Linked DNA regions of Homo sapiens: all the other regions are linked to region 1. The links are contacts of gene promoters, found by promoter capture Hi-C in blood cells and fetal thymus (Javierre and others, 2016). All regions are on one chromosome and are shown on one strand. Each heading gives the region's core, a stretch centred on a gene start or on the middle of the fragment in contact. The rest is flanking DNA. Distances are from core to core; before and after follow the strand shown. Region 1 holds the start of FABP5 (fatty acid binding protein 5). Region 2 overlaps LOC101927118 (a long non-coding RNA gene). Region 3 overlaps LOC101927118 (a long non-coding RNA gene).

The links. The method cuts DNA at HindIII sites, captures the fragments that hold promoters and counts their contacts. A CHiCAGO score of 5 or more calls a contact.
Region 2: a fragment that was not itself captured here is called in contact with the fragment with the promoter of FABP5 in region 1 in 4 of 17 cell types (M2 macrophages, M1 macrophages, M0 macrophages and 1 more); the score reaches 15.5 in M2 macrophages.
Region 3: a fragment that was not itself captured here is called in contact with the fragment with the promoter of FABP5 in region 1 in 4 of 17 cell types (M0 macrophages, M2 macrophages, endothelial precursors and 1 more); the score reaches 11.9 in M0 macrophages.

The regions. Positions count from the first base shown.
Region 1 is chr8:81,278,777-81,282,287 of GRCh38, forward strand. It overlaps FABP5 (fatty acid binding protein 5), which reads left to right and starts at 1,760. Exons shown (of 4, transcript NM_001444.3): 1 at 1,760-1,898. The coding sequence starts at 1,820. It overlaps LNMICC (lncRNA associated with lymph node metastasis in cervical cancer), which reads right to left and starts at 2,648. Exons shown (of 2, transcript NR_186603.1): 1 at 2,557-2,648; 2 at 1-1,600. RefSeq lists enhancers at 1,403-2,237, 2,238-3,072 and silencers at 1,429-1,508, 1,519-1,808. The HindIII fragment of the contact is 5,532 bases long and covers 1-3,511 here.
Region 2 is chr8:81,560,306-81,563,816 of GRCh38, forward strand. LOC101927118 (a long non-coding RNA gene) reads left to right here. Exons shown (of 9, transcript XR_001745980.2): 5 at 352-482; 6 at 1,068-1,216. It also overlaps a transcript of FABP12 not described here. Among named protein-coding and RNA genes, the nearest start is that of FABP12, 28 kb to the left of the region's middle. The HindIII fragment of the contact is 1,690 bases long and covers 995-2,684 here.
Region 3 is chr8:81,539,925-81,543,435 of GRCh38, forward strand. The region is part of intron 3 of LOC101927118 (a long non-coding RNA gene); the gene reads left to right. It also overlaps a transcript of FABP12 not described here. Among named protein-coding and RNA genes, the nearest start is that of FABP12, 7.8 kb to the left of the region's middle. The HindIII fragment of the contact is 1,281 bases long and covers 1,327-2,607 here.

The sequences.
Region 1 (3,511 bases), core at 510-3,009:
GAGATTGTGTTTAAACTTAAGTTTTAAGTAAGGCCTTGGGATTAAAGGCTATTTCTTAAGTACCTAAGTATCTAGTACTCCAGTGCCATTATCTTTTTGATATTTCTGTAACATGTTAGATTATGATCATTTAAAAATTAGTATCAGAGTGCTGCGTCCTATTATTACTACATATAGTCTATACAGAAATGGATAAGACATGTTGAAATAGCACATGAAGAGCTCAAGTTCAAACACACAGGCAGCCCTAAGGAGCTGCCTGAAGTGCCTGGTAGCCAGGGCTTCTCATCACTGAGTAAATGATGCACTCAGCTTCCCTCAGAACACGAATATTTTCTGAGCAGTAGGGCCTCGGGTGTGGGACATGCAGACCCTTATTGGGAAAACAATTGAGTGTTAAATGGTACCACAAGGAAGACTGGTGTGACCCTAAACTGAGGGCAGGGACTTGAAATGAAAGGGATGCAGTTCAGGGGAGTACATGTCCTGCAGCATGTTGGGAGATAGCAAACCAACCTCAGATTTCAATTTTGTCAAGGATGATACAAGAACTAGTAGTGTCTCGGTGACTGTGGTCTACTCAGAGCTCCATCACAGCTACCCTGAGCCCAAGGCAGTCAGGTGTGGTCTGATTTCATAAGGTCTTCAGTGAGACGGACCTGGATGGGGATTCTGGTTCTACCACTGTGAGAACTATCTTTGCCCTATTTTCTCTTTTGAAAAATTGGGATAACACCCCTAGCAAAAATATAGTGGAGACCAATGTCTATAAAGTGCCCAGGAAGCACATCTAGCACTTAGTAGCTACTCAATAAATGCACATTACCGCTATCGAAACGGCCAGCCTGTGTGGCAACTTCCTCACCTCAGTCCATCTGACTTCCAACAGGCACCCGGGAGCACCAAGTAATAAATTGTGAAGAGTACACTTTGAAACGTATCATGTTCTACGCACATGTGTAGGGTATTATTATAGTTCAAGAGAAAGAGGGAACCCGCTGGTGTCTGAGAAGAAACCCGCTGGTGTCTGAGAAGAAACGGTGAAGGGTGCACTACGAAGGGAATATAAACTAATCAAACATTCTTGAATGGCAATGACAGTCACTAAAGTTGACACTTCCTGCAGTCTTTTAGTTTAGAAACCACACTTCCCGAGACGTCCCCCATCCCAACAGGGATAAAATCCTCTAGCTCAACTCAGGTATATCCCCACTATTGGGCCAGGGAGACCTGCGGATGGCGAGAGCAGGTTCTCTTAGGAGGGTGTGGATTGTGAGCTTGTGCGCTGGCGAGGAGCAGAAGGTCAGGGAGGCACCGTAGTTAATGAATCAATAAACCAAACAGCCGATCAATCACTTCCTGCAGTCCGAGTCCGGCGAGGGCTAATCGATTGGTCCGGGTATTTTGAAAGGAAAAACGGCGGTGGATATGTTGTCAAACGGAGGGGTGCAGGAGAGGCGGGGCCAGGCCTCCAGGTGACCCCTCTGGCTTCCTGGGCCTGCAGAGGCGCCGAAACGTGCAGGCGCCGGCGTCCATGAGGCGTGGGGCGCGCCGGGCGAGTCCCTGCTTGCAGGAGGCGCCCGAGAGGCCGTCGCGTACCCTGGCAAGAGGAGCTGGTTAGCACCTCCCGACCCCGAGAAGGCCCAGGGGGCGCCCGGCGGGCGGGGCGGGGACCGGGCGAGGCCCGCCTCCCATTGGCCGCATAGCGCCGCCCAGCGCGGGCCGCCGTTATAAAGCAGCCGCCGGCGCCGGGTGCCTCACAGCACGCTGCCACGCCGACGCAGACCCCTCTCTGCACGCCAGCCCGCCCGCACCCACCATGGCCACAGTTCAGCAGCTGGAAGGAAGATGGCGCCTGGTGGACAGCAAAGGCTTTGATGAATACATGAAGGAGCTAGGTGAGGCACCCGGCCTGGCAGCGCCTGCAACGTGGCGTGTTGTGCGGTCGTCTGTCCCTAGGTCCCCGTCAGCGTGCCAGATTCTGGGGCAGGAGATGCTCGGCGGCCTACCCCCATCCCCTCCCATCTTCCCCACCACGCGGCCGTTGGGTGCAGCGCGCGCAGCACCACGCGGGCAGGCGGCGAGGAGCAGGGAGCGTGCGCGCCTCTTGCCCGCCCGCGGGCCGCAAGATTCCGGAGGTGGTCCACCCCGTGGTCCACCTACCTCTGCTTCTTTCCCTTCGCCCAAACGGCAGCCCTTCCGCATTGCTTCCTGTCCTTTAGCGCGCGCACCCGTCACCTCACGCTGCACTTCTTTCGACCCCCTCCAGGCGACCCTGTATTTCCCTTTTTTCCCCCTTTACTCATCCTTCCCCTTCCTGCCACCATTCTGTCTCTCCCATTTACCCCATCGTGGCAGCACCCACTCCCCTTTCCCTCCCTGTCGCATCTTTTGTTCCCTGTGGCGCGCAGGTCACCCTCCGTTTTCTTCATGGGGACGCGGTGCTGGCGCGCAGTTTCCCGCAGAAATCCTGTGGAGGGGTCTGAGTGGCGCTACAGCTTCAGCTTGCATTCCTCTGTCAGCCCCGTCTCCCCCAGGTCCTCTGCTCGCCCTTACCAGTTGAGCCGAACCCTTTGGATTGGTACCCCATGGAACACCAGGGCCCCCGAGAAGCGTGGCGCTGGCGGTGCCGACCTGCTGCTGGCACTGCCGGGCCGGGGCGCCGCAGTGGGCGGGTGGCCTGTGGGAGGAGCGCAATGAGGCCTGGGGGTGGCCGTGTGTTGCCATCCTGGCCTCTGCCACTTGAGGGTGAGGAGGAAGGAGGCAGTGGGCTTTGCTGGAAAACCGTAACAGAAACTGCCTGGCCCTCCTGCGGCTAACTGCATGCAAGATGGGTGTGGCCCTGCAGAAGGCAGATGACTTCTTGAAGCGTTCCGAGGGAGAATGAATCTCAGTAGTAAGATTCATTTCTCACTCAAAACAGTGCTTCATTATAAATTACTGTCCTTTTCTATGCCAGTGACAGATTGCATGCTGATTGAGACACTGGATAAATTGCAAACAAAAATGGACCTTTGTCACAGGCCACTAGGAAGTGAGATGGAGTTAGCATAGCATGGATCCTCTCTGGAAGGGAGCTTCCAGCCCTAAGGGATGGCTGGGATTTATGAGGGTGCTTCAGAAGCCGGTATCCACAAATGTTAACCCGGTTGCTCGCTGGTGAAATAACTACCGTGACCCTCTATTGATACCTGGTCGCCGTGGCACTTCGGAATCACTCCTTCAGTACCCTTTATCCAAGACCATGTGGTGTTAAGGCTGGTTTATGGTGAATCATGAGTGTATTTTTGATACTATCAGTAAAGAAGGCAGTATTTTTCTTTTTCCTTGTAAACCTACATCAAGATGACTCTGGAAAAAGCGATTTACTGCACCTGTCCAATAAATAACAGTGTGTGTGTGTGTGTGTGTGTGTGTGTGTGTACAAGTTTAAGGCCCAAAGAACACTTTTCTCTGCCTGTAGAAAGCAAATTGTGTGTAGGTTTGGAGGGCTTGTTTCCAGGATTCTGGA
Region 2 (3,511 bases), core at 590-3,089, 280 kb after region 1:
TTGGAGAGACTCACCTTACCTCTAAACTCAAGAGAAGATGCTGGAACAAAGCTCTAATTTACAAATTGAAGGAAAAATTTAAATGCAACACCATCTTTAAATTATAGTCAAGGCATTTCTCATCTTATTTTCCTTTCTTTTTTTCTGTTTTTTGTGAACAAATAGCCTTGTTTTATTGGCCTCAAAAAAGGTTGTTTTACATTCTAAATACTGGACAGGCCATCCCCCCATCAGCCAGACAAAACACATTAGTGGATTGTATTCAGCCAGAGGAACACAACTTTGAAAGTCTAGACCATACATGCAATTTACTGCAGATTTTTAAAAATCTCATCTTTTATTTCTTCCAAGTTCCTCAAGAACTCTGTAGGAGTCATCATTACCTCATTTAGTCTCCTCAGCAACAAATAAGAGAAATATTATCTCCATTTTACAGAAGCACAGACTGCAGAGATTGAGTTCCCCCAGGAGCACACAAGCTGGTAGGTGGCAGAGCTAAGCAAGGACGCTGTGACATTAAAGTCCATGCTCTTAATCCTTAGGCTGTGCTGCTTCTAGGTAGTAAGTGAGGAAAGCAAAAGTAACCTCCGTGTTGAACTCACATTTGGCTGTTGTATCTTCAGGGTGTTACTGTGGCCTGAGGAGCCACAATGCTGCGGGGCAAAGGAGGGAAGGTGACCCGGCCACCCTTCTCTGCACACAACTTCTCATCCCACTCTATGTTTGTATCACATGTCTTTTCTAAGAACCTCTCGTTCTCTTTTCCCAGCCCCTAGAAGCAACAGGATTTGGTGGAAAACTGGCAGAATTTTTTCTTCCTAGTCTAGTCTATTTTTGGTCACTGTGAGAGCTCGGGCAAGTCCTAATTGTTCTCAGTTCCAAATCTCTAAAACAGAGTAATTATCTCCCACTCTTTCTGAAAGAATAAAATGATAACAGTGCATATGAAAGTACTTCATAAATGGGAAAATAATCTATATAATAGATTGGTCCAAGCTTAAGTTTGAAAAGTTGAGAACCCACTGGCAAAAAATAAAGTGGCATAAACTGATTTTTTTCTCTTCTAGTACTGTACCTAAGGTCCTAAAACATATTGGTGATATGGAAGGTAGACAAAATGGCCAAATAGAAGCCTTCACCCATTGTTCTCCCTGCAGAAACACTAAATTGAACAACTATCCACACATAAATCACCTTCATATGAAGCAAAAATCAGGTGAGTGATCACAGTATCTGGTTTTAACTTCATATCACTGAGAGAGGCACTGAAGAGGGTAGGAAAGACAGTCTTGAATCACCAATGGCACAGAGATAGAATCTGTGTGCATGGGGGAAGGAGGGCACGGTGATTGTGGGACTTTGCATTGGAACTCAGTACTGCCCTGTCAAAGCCGAAAGCAACACTAGAAGAACTCAGCCGGTGCCCACAGAGGGAGAACTGAGGCCAGCCCTAGGCAGAGGTGAGTTATCCATCCCAGTGTTTGGAACCTGAGTTCCAGCTAGCCCCATCACTGAGGGGCAAAGTGCTCTGGGGTCCTAAATAAACTTAGAGGCCAGTCTAGGCCATAAGGACTGCAATTCCCAGGAAAGTCCTGGTGCAGTGCTAGGATTGGAGCCAGTGAACTTGGGATGCACATGACATAGTAAGCTACTATCCAGGGTATCCAGAGAAGTGCTTGTGTCATGCCTCTTCCAACACCAGGCAGTACAGCTCCCAGCCCCAAAAGGGATTATTTCCACTTGAGGAGAGGGGAGAATAAAGAAAACTTTATCTTGCAACTTGGATACCAGCTCAGCCACAGTAAGATAGGGCATCAGGCAAAGTCCTGAGGCCCCTATCCCAGATGCCAGCTCCCAGATACACCCTGGGCTAGAAGGGAACCTGCTGCCTTGAAGGGAAGGACCCAGTTCTGGCAGGATTCATCACCTGCTGACTAAAGAGCCCTGAATAATCAGCAGTGGTACCCCGGCAGTATCACTATAGCCCTTGGGTAAGACTCAGAGATGTGTTGGCTTCAGGGGTGACCCAGTCTTTTCCCACCTTGGGTGGCTGTGGGGAGGGACCCCTTCTGCTTGAGAAAAAGAGAGGGAAAAGTAAAGGGACTTCGTCTTGTAGCTTACCTACCAGCTTGGCCACAGTAGGGTAGAACACCAGGTGTCATCTTGGGGTTCCCAATTCTAGGCCTTGGCTCTTGGATGTCATTTCTGGACCTGCCCTGGACCAGTCAGGAGCTCACTGCCCTGAAGGGAGAGTTCCACATCTGGCATTTACCACAGCTTGACTGAAGAGCCCTTGGGCCTTGAATGAACATTGGTGGTAGCCAGGCAGTACTCACTGTGGGCCTGGGGCAGTGGTGGCCACAGGAGAGAAGAGACTCCCCTGCTTGTGGAAAGGGAAAGAGTGAGAAGAACTTCATCTTGTGGCTTGGGTGCCAGCTTAGCTGCAGTAGAATAGAGGACCACATAGATTCCTAAGGTTTCTGACTCTAGGCCCTGGATTCTAGATGGCATCTCTGGACCTGCACAGGATCCGGGGGAACTTACTTACCTAAGGAGAGGATACAAGCCTGGTTGGCTTCACAACCTCTCATCATAAGAGTCCTGGGGCCTTCAGCCTTGAGCAAATGTAAGTGGTAGTCAGGCAATGATTACAGCAGGACTTGTGTGAGACCCAGTGCTTTGCAAGCTTTAGGTCAGACCCAGCACAGACCCAGTGGGGGTGGCCACAGGGGTGCTTGGGCCACCCCTCCCGCAGCTCCAGGCAGCTCAGCACACAGAGAGATACTTTGTTTGAGGGAAATGAAGGAGTGAAGACCAGTCTCTGCCTGTTAATCCAGATAATTCTTCTGTATCTTATCCAAGTCCACCAAGGTGGTACCTCTATGAGTCTGCAATAGCCACAGCATTACTGGGCTTGTGATACCCCTAAACAGATACAGCTACAGTGATCAAACACTTAGATCACAGCATGCAAGTCCCTTCAAATACCTAGAAAGCCTTTCCAAGAAGGATGGGTACAAACAAGCCCAGATTGCAAAGACTATAATAAATACCCAATTCTCCAATGCCCAGATGCTGACAAACCTCCACAAACATCAAGACCAGCCAGGAAAATATGACCTCACCAAATGAACTAAATAAGGTACCAGTGACCAATCCTGGAGAGACAGAAATACATAACATTTCAGATAGGTAATAAGTAATTTTGAGGAAACAATGAAATTCAAGATAACACAAAGAAGAAATTCAGAGTCTGATCAGATAAATTTAATAGGGAGATTGAAATCATTAAAAAGAATCAAGCAGAAATTCTGAAGCTGAAAAATGCAACTGACATACTGAAGAATGCATAAAAGTCTCTTAGCAGCAGAACTGATAAAGCAAAAGAATTAGTGATCTTGAAGGCAGGCTATTTGAAAATACACAGTCAACAGAGAAAAAAGAAAGAAGAATAATAAAGAAAGAAACACACCCACAAGATCTAGAAAATACCCTCAAAATGACAAATCTA
Region 3 (3,511 bases), core at 717-3,216, 260 kb after region 1:
ATTGCAGAGTAGCAGTAACCTCATGGTTCTCAAGCCTGACTTGCATTTGTAAAAATGCCAACTCCTATGAGCCGGCATAGGTCAGAATTGCCAAGGACAAAGCCTGGGAATATATATTTCTAAAATTATTCCCAGGCAATTCTGACTGAAGTCTAAGGCTCAGCAACTAAGGACAAATGTTCTAGACCAGTAGTTCTCAAAGTGTGGGCTTTGGACTAGGCGGCATCACCATCACCAAAGAACTTTTTAGAAATGCACATTCTTGGCCCCAGCCCCAGGCCTGCTGAATCAGAAACTGAAAAAAGAGCATAGTTTTTATAAGTCCTCCAAGTGATTCTGATGCATGCTCAAATATGAGAACCATTGACCACACTTAGACTCACTTCCAAAGAACAGAGTGTGAAAAGGGAAAAATAGTAACTTCAGCAAACTGGTAAATATCACATTAACCACAGGATCAAGTTTAATATCCCCAGTGTAAAGTCATGCTGTCATGTACCCTCTGCTAGGATGCAATGAGAAGGCATTTCACTTCTGTGGTCTTCCTAAACACTCATAACCCAAATTTAATCTTCATGTAATCTCAGATATATGAAGACAAAATTGAGGGATATTCTACAAAATACTCTTCAAACTGTCAAGGTCATGAATCACAAGGAAAACCTGGGAAATTGTCACAGATCTGTGGAAACTAAGGAAACATGATGACCAAATGCAATGTGGGATCCCAAATTGGATCCTGGAACAGAAAGAAACATTAGTAGAACAAATGGAGAAATCCAAATAAAGTCTATAGTTTAGTTGCTAGTATTGTAGCAATGTTCATTTATTGGTTTTGAAAAATATACACGTTAGATGTTAACATTAGGGGAAGCAGGATGAAGGGTATGTGGGAGCTCTGTACTGTATTTGCAACTTCTCTGTAAACCAAAAATTATTTCAACATTTAAAAACAAATCAAGGCCAGGCACGGTGGCTCACACCTGTAATCCCAGCACTTTGGGAGGCCGAGGCGGGTGGATCACGAGGTCAGGAGTTCAAGACCAGTCTGGCCAAGATAGTGAAACCTCATCTCTACTAAAAATACAAAAAATTAGCCAGGTTTGGTGGTGGGTGCCTGTAATCCCAGCTACTTGGGAGGCTGAGGTAGAGAACTGCTTGAACCCGGGAGGTGGAGGTTGCAGTGAGCCGAGATCACGCCACTGCACTGCAGCCTGGTTGACAGAGTGAGACTCTGTCTCAAAAAAAAAAAAAAAAATCAACAAATATAAAAAGACACACACACAAAGCGTGTATCACAGATATGCAGTATCTGCATCACCTGGAAGCTTGTTAGCATTGCAGATGATCAGAACCAACTCCAGATTTACTGAATCAAAAACATGCATTTTTCAAAAGATTTCTTTGGTGAATTGTTTAAACATACAATAAAATTTGAGAAGCCCTGTTGTTTACCATCAGCCTGGGAATTAACATTAGCTCAATCTTGTCTGGACCTGAAATACATATCAGTTTCGATTATTGAGCATCTGTGTACTTTTGAGACCCCCACGCTCAATTTGCAAACTAATTCTGACTGCTAAGTTTCTGAGCAATTCCCCTGGCCTCAGTCCTTGCATGGTAACACCCCTGATGAGGCTCAGACCATATCTTGTGTTTGCAAGGTTTTTTCTTTTTTAACTGAATGGAGTTTTGCCTTTGATCCCTTACTCTGTGCCTGTGGACCTGCTACCTGCCAAAGGCTTCCCTCTTGCTGACAGTCAACCTGCCTGGTATTTTAAGTACTGCCTTCTAGAAGTCTCCATGTGTCTCCCATGCTGACGATACTTGGATTTCTATCTATTGTTACTATAACCTCAGATGTTGTGCTTTACTTGTCAGATCCGACCATGACTTGGAAGTATCCAGAAATAGGACAGCGTGTAGAAATACTTCCCAATCAACAGCTCAACAAATAGGACTGGACTTCCAGGAGTCCCAGGGTTTAAAAAAAAAAAAAAAAAAAAAAAAAAAAAAAGACAAAGAAAATCTTTCAACAGGATCTGAGCCTAGAGGTAATGTCTAGGAGCCACTAGAGGCCTGGGAATAAAACTAGAAAGGTAAACAACTTCCTCTAGGGCCAGACTTTCTTTACTTTTGTGTCAGTGAAGTCTCAAAAACAAGAACCTACTGACTCTGTAAAGACAATTTGCTGATGGAGTATTGTTATAAAATCCCAGCCAGAATGGAGAAAAGGGAAACTTCCCGGGAGCTACTGGCCTTGACCTCCTTCTCTTGAGGAAAGGGAACGAAGTGAAATGCTGAAAGTTAAACATCAGGAGAACTTACTCTTAAAAATCAGGAGAACTTACTCCTTAAAAATGTTCCTGACCCAGTCTGTCATAAGGGAGCCTGGGGGGGTTCTTGCTTTATATAGGGTAACACTGGGCACTCACCTTGGGGCATCTTGGCAACTATCATCTTTGGGAAATATGGTCTGAATGGGACCATGGCACAGGGATTTTTAAGGGAACAGGAAGACCAGCAGTCAAATGACTTGGAGGTAATTGAGGCAACCCTACAAGGACCCGAAAGCTAGAACCAACCTGGTGAGAGGACACAGGGAAAAGCTTATGGGATTCCACATCTCTCTGAGTCATAAATGAGCTCTGGATGGGGCTGGATATTCCCACAAGTCTACAGGTGAGGGATAGGTCATGGATAACCAATATGCAACTCTCTGGGAGTGCAGAGTGTACTCAAGTTGCCAGTGATCTGCAGACAAGCCATTGGGTCACTAATCCATATTTACGCATGCACCCATTTCTAACTTTTATGTGTCTGATTTCTAATCTCCTCTTTTGAAAAGGTCTAATCTTGTTGCTGATGAACTGAGAAAAGATTTTCCCACATTTTGAGCAGAATAGAGATGAGATTAATATCTTTCACAACATCAGTGATTAAAACAGTTGCAAAATTTGGTGAGTCAGGATAGCTGGCAGGGGTGGGAGGTGTGGAGGACAAAGACTACCTGACAACATTGGCCCCTTGCTGCTGTGGAAAAGGCAACCTGTGCTCTAAGGGTTGACTTCAGTGAAAACTGTGGGAAGAAAATCCACTGTTCTATCAAAAGCTTTATAAAATATTCTGATATAATCTCCAATTTAGGACCTTTAAGCTTAACATTTTCACACTTCGGAGTCTAAAAATTACAATGAAATATCCAGTAGTAAAAGACATTGTCATTGAAGGCAGAGCACTTCCATCTCTGGCTTTGTGATCATACATGTACTTACGAAACTAATTAGCTTCAGGCTAGGCGGTATGTGAGTAATTTATCCCTCCCATATTAACATCAACTGTGAAATCTAAACTGAATGATGACATTCCAGAAACAATTGCATATGATGATTCTTCAGCAGGTTTGGGCAATGTAGAGTAGCTTTCATGAGAGACTACATCATCTCATGCTATTTTAATGATTATGGCTCTACTGGAAAGGAACACAAGGTGGAAAACTAGTTTAGCGCCT